2 separate regions of the Homo sapiens genome follow, and region 2 is linked to region 1. Evidence: promoter capture Hi-C in human tissues and cell types (Jung and others, 2019). All regions are on one chromosome and are shown on one strand. The core of a region is centred on a gene start or on the middle of the fragment in contact, and the rest is flanking DNA. Distances in the headings are between cores, read along the strand shown. Region 1 holds the start of AKAP7 (A-kinase anchoring protein 7). Region 2 overlaps EPB41L2 (erythrocyte membrane protein band 4.1 like 2).

What was found. The method cuts DNA at HindIII sites, captures the fragments that hold promoters and counts their contacts. A contact is called where the count stands out against the background at its distance.
Region 2: a contact is called between a fragment that was not itself captured here and the fragment with the promoter of AKAP7 in region 1, in 2 of the 25 tissues and cell types used here (dorsolateral prefrontal cortex and hippocampus).

The regions. Positions count from the first base shown.
Region 1 is chr6:131,132,004-131,136,716 of GRCh38, reverse strand. AKAP7 (A-kinase anchoring protein 7) reads right to left here and starts at 1,250. Exons shown (of 8, transcript NM_016377.4): 1 at 935-1,250. The coding sequence starts at 953. RefSeq lists enhancers at 623-682, 1,119-1,619 and silencers at 943-1,052, 1,203-1,292. The HindIII fragment of the contact is 8,304 bases long and covers 1-2,594 here.
Region 2 is chr6:130,925,449-130,930,161 of GRCh38, reverse strand. EPB41L2 (erythrocyte membrane protein band 4.1 like 2) reads left to right here. Exons shown (of 20, transcript NM_001431.4): 4 at 3,453-3,557. Among named protein-coding and RNA genes, the nearest start is that of SMLR1, 100 kb to the right of the region's middle. RefSeq lists a silencer at 659-953. The HindIII fragment of the contact is 7,412 bases long and covers 1-4,713 here.

The DNA.
Region 1 (4,713 bases), core at 1-2,500:
GTTAATAGTGTCCGAAAATGGATGAAAGGAGGAAGTAACCTCCACAAACATCTTAAACTTTATGAGTAAGGAAAATATACAGATATGCTAACAGGATCCTGAATTGCAAAGCCACGGCACTTAAACAAGGAACTGGAGTATGGCTCTTTTCTCCTTAACAATTTCCATTCCCATGCATTTCCTAAATGCAAAAACTCACTGTCATCATTCACTTAACAATTGTCAACATATTCACACGATTAACTGCTATTTATATAGTACACTTTAACGTTTTTATGCTTTTTATACTCTTCTATGAGTTTATCCTATGAAACTCTTGCAGAGGAGCACCTTTTCTCTAATTGGTTTGCGGACCCTTTTACCGAAAGTCCACCCCTAACTCGCTCTATCACAAAGTTCAGTTCACAACAAACGCTGACCTAAACTGGAAATTCATTCCGGGCGCTAGTGTAGACTTGGCGCCAGTTTTAAAAGCGGTCATGTCCAAACCTGGCAGAAAATCCTAAATGAGACAGTATGGTGGTTCGGGTGCTTAATATTTGTGATATAAGATAAAATCGAAATTTTACTAGGTTTTGTTTACATTTACCCACATCAACACCGTCGGAAGGAATGTGTACTGGCATGAACTTTGTGCAAAGGGTCACAGGATGAGAAAGGGAGAAAGAAAAGTGAAACTCGGGGATGGGCTCATACCCCCGCCTCCTGTCGGACCCACAATGCGTGCATTAAAACGCTTCGCTACAGGCAGCACTGATGTACACCCCGGTTGCACCGGGCTTCTCGGTGCTACCCTGAGTCCTTTTGGGAAGGAGGGAGACTCGGAGAAGGGCCGGCGCGGGTCAGGCCCTCCCAAAGTTCGAGCGCAGAGCAGGCCCAGGCCCCCGCGGCTCCTGTCGCCCCCGCCCCGGCCCGCTGGACAGCCCGGTCTCACCCGCTTCGGGGCGCTCCATGGTCGCGGCGCATGCGGGCGGCGCGTCTGGGCTGGCGGCAGCGGCGGTGGCGGGCCGCGTCCCGGGGCTGGAGGCGAGGCCGAGGCGGAGGCCAGGGCGGGGCTCGGGGCCTGAGGGCGGTGCGCTGGGCCGGCGCGGGGTCCAGCGACAGGCTGCGGGGGCCCGGGCGGCGGAGGCCAGGCCTGCGGAAGCGCGGAGCTTCCCAAGCCGCAGCCCCCGCGGCAGCGGCAGCAGCGGCGGCGGCAGCCGCAGCAGCCGCAGCACCCGCATGCCAGGCCGGACGCCGGAACAAGCCAGAAGGGGCCGACCCGAGTCGCCGGTGGTACCCGGATTCGGGCGAGAGGCGCGGACGCGCTCGGGCAGGGCGGGGGAAACTAGGGCCGGCGACTGCGGCGTCACGGCAGCCCAGGTCGTCTCGACTCTGCAATGCGACGCTGGGTCTTCGCCTGCCTGCCGAGCCCCGCGGCCTCCGACGGCCTTTGGCAGCCCTCATTTATTTCCCGTGGCGCAGCCTTGCCCCTCCCACGCTTTCAAGGGCGAGATTGGGACTAGGATGAAAGAATTCTCTGGCCTGGTGTCTTTTGAGAATCCATGTGCTTAGTTTTGCAATCAGGGTTCTGATTGCAGAATATTTGGGAAGAGCGAAATGTACAAGAACGAGACCTTGTACTTCTGTATAATGAGATACTTTATTTACCTTACTTTTAAAAACTGCAAATTGTGACAAAGTCTCTAATTTTTAACAATGATGTTATGTTTAGACATTAAGAGGAAACCAGTTGCTGGTTCTTGTAGTATAAGGTACTGCAGTGAGTAAATTGGGAGAAAAAGAAATTTACTTAGTTTAAAAAAATAAAAACCTTTCACTTGAAACGGAATGCTATTGGGATTGGTTTTAGTGCGAAGAAACCAGGGGTTAAGAACATTAGGTGCATCCGTCCACAAATTAGCGCCTTTCGTGAATAATAACACTTCGCTTATGTTGAATGCATCGTAGAATAGGGATGGAAGAAAAGAAGACCCCTACACAGCCACAACAGCTGGCGTAAAGGCTGCACACTAGAAGTCGGCAAACTAGTTACTCTGATTTTCAAATAATTCTAACACGTTGAGTTTCTGATGCCCATTTATGGGCTGGTAGGAAAGTACAACCAGTTCCCCTAATATTTATTTAATGCTTGAGCTCTGTGCTGAGGATGTGCAGGTAAGACAGGTCTTTTACTTATGGAGCTGATCATATAATAGCAGAGAAAGAAACATAAGTAACTGCGGAAATAAAAGCTGCAAAAATGTGGTCCACATTCATAGTGAAGAGGATGAGAATATGCCACCCCAAATATGCCACTTCAGCATAAGGATTATTCTTGAGCTTAAAACAGTTCAGAAACTAAAGACTCAGGAACAACTTTGACCTCCCCCTTTCTGCCTAAAAGCAGGACATAAATTTCCCTTCGTAAAGGTGACATAAATTTTTATTTTTAAAGCTTTACCAGGCCGGGCCCAGTGGCTCACGCTTGTAACCCCAACACTTTGGGAGGTCAAGGCGAGTGGATCACTTGAGTCCAGGAGTTTGAAACCAGCCTGGGCAACATAGCAAAACCCTGTCTCTACCAAAAATACAAAAATTAACCAGACGTGGTGACCCATGCCTGTAATCCCAGCTACTCCAGAGGCTGAGGTGGGAGGATCGCTGGAGCCCAGGAGGTGGAGGTTGCAGTGAGCTGAGATGATGCCATTGCACTCCAGTGTGGACAACAGAGCCAGATCCTGTCTCAAACAAACAAACAAACAACAAAGCTTTACCACTCACCCATACCAGAAAGAGGAGAATGAGTCTTACCTGCATAACAAACCCATACATTTTCTAGTAACCTTCCCATACTGCAAAAAGGCTAAGCCCCCTTTTCCTTTGTCTAGCCTCTCCACACTTTATCATCGTTAAAATGGTATAGAAGCCCCCAGTTCTAACTGCCTCTTCGGGCTTTTAGTTCTTTCCTGTGAAGCATCTATGTGCATGTGTAATAATCCTTTTCTCGTCTTAATCTGTCTTTTGTCAATTTAATTTACACAGTCCAACCTAGTGAACTAAATGGGCAGGAGAAAGATTTTTCTTCCCCTGTGGTGTGTACCAAGAGATATATGGAAGTTTCATTCTCTTACCTAAGCAGAGGTAACAGCCCAAATGCCACATATTTTTCACCACCAGTATTATGAATACAGAGTCTTATCAACACCTACCATGTGGAGGAACATTTTAATTACCCAAGTCTGAAAAAGGAATTTTTCACAGAGCTTCTTTTAGAAATGACAGGGAGAAAGGGAAGTACAAGGTGAACCTTGGACATCTTCTTGTGCCAAAAAGCAAAGACAAATGGGGACTATCAAAAACACAAGGACTAGCGAGAAACAGCTTTCTTTGAGCAAATGGGAGATAATCTGACATCATAAAAGGATAACACCTGTAATTATTGTAACATACTGAATACAAAATCTATATACCCATAATAATACTCAAAAAATGAGGAAGAAAAACTAGTAGGCCACCATTAAAGGTGACAAGTACGCAATTCCTTAGTCTCCTTACTCTAAAAATTAAAGGGAAAGAAAGATTTACCATGACTTTTTAGAAGTAGTAGTATGGGAAAGCTGCTTTGCACAGAAGAATTTTCAATAATAAATATAGGAGACATAAAATAATTGGAAAATTACCATTTTGCCACCACAACTGATAACTGATTGATGCAAAGATCATCAATATATTCTAAAACCATTACATGAAAGGTTAATGTGGACCGAAATATTTATAAGTTGCCAAAATACTACCCCCCACAAAATACTTGGTAATTGCTCAGGAGAGAACATATTTTTACTCCATGTAAATAAACCTGGTTGTCACCACCTTTATCGTGATTAAACTCAGCATCATTAATGGTGGACAATCTGTGAAAGCTCCTGTGAAAGCTATATCATCACTGCAAGGTAGTCTTGCCATAAATATTTCACCTGAAGCTGCTAAGGCTTTAAATATAATTTTCAGATTTCCAGAAATACAGGAGATAGAGGTACAAGTAAAATAACATGATGAGGAAAGAATCAGACCAATCCAGAATGTGTGACATTCTAGAAAATAATTGGCTCAGGCTTTTCAAAATCTCGGTGGGGTGTTGTGGTCCAGGAACAGTGTGGTAGCTTAAAACTAAACCCTTCCAATCCAGTTGTTTTGGCACTGTGCCAGTGTATATTGTCCTCTGGGGAGAAAAGGGCTGTGTACTAATAGTCAGGGAGGAATGGGCAGAACATACGGAGGGAGAGGGAAGTGTGGACCAGAGGATCCATGCCCTCATGAGTCGTGCTGCAGGTGAACCTTCGTTAAAGCATTGGGCAACCTGGTTCTTTTTTGCTTTCATAAAACAAATTAATACCTATGAATTCATCTTTTTTTTTTTTTTCTGAGACGGAATCTCGCTCTGTCGCCCAGGCTGGAGTGCGGTGGCGCAATCTCGGCTCACTGCAAGCTCCGCCTCCCGGGTTCCCGCCATTCTCCCTGCTCTACTTCCCGAGTAGATGGGACCACAGGCGCCCGCCACCACGCCCGGCTAATTTTTTGTATTTTTTAGTAGAGACGGGGTTTCACTATGTTAGCCAAGATGGTCTCGATCTCCTGACCTCATGATCCGCCCGCCTCGGCCTCCCAAAGTGCTGGGATTACAGTTGTGACCCACCGCGCCTGGCCGAATTTATCTATTTAATTGATTTTCAA
Region 2 (4,713 bases), core at 1,371-3,870, 210 kb after region 1:
TTTGCATTGCAGGACTCCTCAGGGTGTCTGTTATACAAATAGGTGTTTTGGTGCTCAGTAATCATATGCAACAAGGAGAATTTTTCTTGTCTCACTCTGCTGCTCTTTTTGGGAATGAGTGGTGTATATAACTCATGGGATGAGTGGGACCAGTGGAAAATAACTTTGGCAAATATAGGTTGGCCTCGTGATACCTTTGGCTTCTGCTAATTGCCTTCTCGCTGTCTTTCCTACTGTTTATACCACTTTATGACTGTGCGTGTATGTGTGTGTGTGTGTGTGTGTGTGTGTGTGTGTGTGTGTGACTGTCTGTCTTGTATTTAATCTCCCTGAGGGAAGTCGTGATTCTATCTGCTATTCCTCATCCCCAGAGCAAAAGATTGTTGTTGTGCAGAGCTCTTGTATCAGGCTATCTTGTAGGCTACTGGTCACTTTTCTTTGAGCCAATTGGGCCAGGTACCTAATTATGTCCAAATTGGTAGATACATAATGCTTTATTTTTGGCTTCCCATTCATTCTCTTTCTCTGCCAGTTGCATATAAATTTCCTGAGACCATGTTTGTCGTGCTCATCATTGATTCCCTGGTATCTTAACATAGGAACTGACACATATGGGTCAATAAAGATTGAGTGCTAGCTTGGCAAGTCCTCACAGTCATCTGAGAGTCGGACAGGGTAACCAGCAGTCATATCGCATGGCTTGTTTATTCTGGATGGCTTCCTTTTTTCATTTTACTGTATCCTCCAGTATCTTTTGAACAGAAATTCACTCAGTCTCTATAAACATCCGAAGTAAAAAGTAAGCTCTATAAACATCCAAAGTAAAAAGTAAGTTATTTTGAATATCTGTTTTCTCTACCTCAAAAAATCATTTCCTCCTCTAAGATTCCCTTCAGATATCATATTCTTGGCGCAGCTGTGATTTCTGTTAGTCACATTTACTCATTCCATTCCTGGTGTTCTGATAGCACTTTGTACATCGCTCTCTCAACATGTGCTTCATGTGTTGTTGCATTTTTGCTTTTCCTTCCAGATTTTGAGTTCGTTGAGGGTGGAGAGGCAGATGGAAGCTTAAGTAATGTGTATGTGCAATCAGGATCTCATCAAGCATTGAGAATATCTGTTCCCTGGAGAGAGAAGGAAAGAATAGTAGAGAAGCAGCTTTAGCATCTAGAAACATTTTGGTGTTTGTTAGATGTGGACTAGTGAAGGAATAGTTGACAGTAGAGTACTGCTATGGTTGGTTGAGGCATATTCCATCTCACTGGGTTAATTTTATTCTCACGTGAGCTCTGAGGTAGCTATTACCCTCATTTTACAGACAGGGAGACTTAAGTGGTTTTACTTTGTCACACTGGTGCGGTGCAGTAATAGTAAATGCTTACAAAATGTTGAATGATAGAGGAACTAGGTCCGATAGAGGAACTGGTCCAGCCATCATGCTGATACCTCATGTACTGCCAAATTGTAGTGGTGAGCTGTGTGGATGTTTTTTCCTCTTAATCTTGTAAGGAAATTCTGCCCATGAGGGCATGTTCCTATTTTTGAAATGGAAACCAATGAGAACATGTGAATTATTAGTAAGAGTTGACTTGAAGCTAGTGTTGGAATTGGAACGTGTTTTCTCCTTGAACTGAGGTGTATTTTTGTAGACATCAGTTGTCTTAAATATCCTTTTTACCCTAATTTCAAATAGCATCATAACCAATTGTTATGTACTGCAACTCTTTTAGTACTCACCGCACCTCCTGTGGTATCTGCTATCTGTTATCCCCATTTCACAGATGAGCAGATTAAGGCAAGCAGACGTTAAGTGTCTTGCCATGGGTCACATAGCTTGTAAGTAGTGGAAGTGTATTTAGAACTTTGGTGTTTGACATACAGAGCCCAATACTCTTATTCTCTATGCTGTATTTGTATATACTTTTAATATGTAGACAAACAAGCACATATCTATCTTAAACATGCTCAGTAATTTAATTGACTATTAAATCCTCATTGCAAACCTGTAATATGTATGTGACACATTGTTTTATTTTTAAATTTTTTATTATTTATGTATTTATTTATTGAGACAGGGTCTCACTGTCACCCAGCCTGGATTGCAGTGGCGTGAACACAGCTCACTGCAGCCTCAGCCTCCCAGGCTTAAGCAATCCTTCCACCCCAGCCTCCGGAGTAGCTGAGACTACAAGCACACGCCACCACACCTGGCTAACGTTTGTATTTTTTGTAGAGATGAGGTTTCACCATGTTGCCCAGGCTGATCTTGAACTCCTGAGCTCAAGAGATATGCCTGCCTCAGCCTCCCAAAGTGCTGGGATTACAGGCGTGAGCTACCATGCCAGGCCTTACACTGCTTATTATGTTGAAATAATGTTATCTGTGTGGCATTCTCCTTCTTCCCTTTACAATTTGATGCAATTCTATTCTTTTCAGAAATGTTACCATAAGAGGCTTAATAATAAAAATACCAGATTCTCCTCCTCAAGATACATGTGTGGGGAACATTAATTTTCACACACTGGATGAGCTAGTACACATTTTGATAGTGAGAGGGCATTCGTTTTGAGGATGGAAAAGTCTGATGGCTTTTTCTTTTTCACTAGCAGTGCATTGGTGGCTTTTATCAGTGCACCTGGGGAGGAGGCGTGTGTCTGACCTGACCTCACAGTTGGGTTGTTCCAGGGGTGTGCATCTTAATTGGAGATGAGTCACCACTCTGCTTATGTTTTGCCATTGAAGAGACAATGAGCTTTTCTTCTATGGCTGTCAAAGGCTCTTACATCTCTGTTCACAGCAGCTTCTTAAATTTATATATATATATTCAAGGTAAAAATATGTTAAGTCCTTAGGGGCAGTTGATTTCTTGTCCCACTTCCATTATCTTGTATTTTTAGAATTTATCCCAAGGAGCGAACACCATATCATTTTCTAGGAAATTGTAAATAGGAGCATAGCTCATATAGAAAATAAAATTCTATTCTACAGATATCATGGAACAAAAAATCAAACATGAAACCAAAGTGTTGATAGGATAAATTATGTTAGGATCTACTGAATAATAGGGCTAAATGATTTTCCTGGGGAGTAGTGTACTTTATAGATATGAGCCACCTTGAGGAATTGATGGAAGCAGTTTGAACATTTTTGAAATAAGAAAATGAACAGCTAACATTTCGCCTTTTTCGTCCTTTTTATGTCTATATTGAGTAGCAGTAAAGCAGACGGTGCTTGCTTATGCTTTTGTTTCAGATTTTATGCTTTGTATATGTGTGCAGGGTGGGAGGGCTAAAGTTAAAAAATTAATCACTTTTATATTGTTAGAAAATGAGAAAACAAATATTTAATGTTAATTTATAATAAATCATGTATCTGATATGATGTCTTAAATTTATAGCAGTCTTGGAATCTTTAGTACTTGAAAAGTAAAGTTATTATTTTTTCTCCAGAAACATGCCAAGGGACAAGTGTTATTTGACAAAGTGTGTGAACACCTCAATCTCTTGGAGAAAGACTACTTTGGACTTTTGTTTCAGGAAAGCCCTGAGCAGAAAGTAAGTGATTTCAAGTTTATTTTTATCTTTTTAGAACATATTGTATTTTTTTATTAACCAGTTTATCTCAGTTTAAAATTTAGCTTTAAAATAACTTAGGTGTTTATTATGACTTCACTGTGAAATTTGGTAAATACTGAAAAACTATCTTGTGTAGAGAGAAACCACCTGTAGCTTTTTGGTGTATGTGTATTTGTGTGTGTGCATGCATATGTGTACATGCTTTGCACTTACATCATGAGCAGACAGAATAGAATGTCATCAGTGGAAAAGTGATGTTCTGGCATAAAGAGAACACAGAATAAATGGTATTATTTTAATCACTTTTGGCTCTCAATCACTCAGTCTGGCCTTTCGGTACTAAATAAGTAAAGAAGCTGGTCACATCTGCTCATATTGTGCAGTCACCTGTATGCTAGGTATTAAAGCATACCTGAAAGGCAGGGAAGGCGGCACATTGGAACGATTCTGTCTGAGGATACCAAGAACACTTGGTCACAGTGAAAGGGATTACTCTCCATGATCTAACATTCAAATCACAGTCAGCAGAACAGAGCAATCAATAGAAGAACAGAAGTGTGAATTTTATTTGCCTACATTGCTATCGTTGTTAGTATTTACATGTCCTACTAATGAAATATAAGATAATAAGAGTGATAATTATATATACTTTAAGTTTTCTCAACTTGCTTAGCTTTAAATACTTGATATCTAATTTGTGGTTTAATTCTTTGTTTAGACTAAAGACAGTTAAATTACATGCCTGCCTGCTGAATACTACATGAGTATTCTTAATAGAACTCTGTTTAGAGTACTGTTTTCAGACGTAATAGCACATTTGACTGAATAAACTAGGTTTTTTAGACTGTAAATTATAAGGTGGTCTTGATAATGTTTCCAATTATGTGCTCTTCTGTTTGTCCTAAAAGCTGCAAAAGAGAAAGTGGTGGGAATTTGGCTAGGATTACCTCCTTTTTTTGAGATCACATACTGGTAGATTCATAGGAGCATATAATATAATCTTTGTAAAGTAGAGGGACAATTCAGTATGTTGTACAATATGTAGAATAACATGTTCTCTTAGTAGGCATAGGATATACTACATTAAGAAATCTGGGCTAAGCGTGGTGGTTCATGCCTGTAATCCCAGCACTTT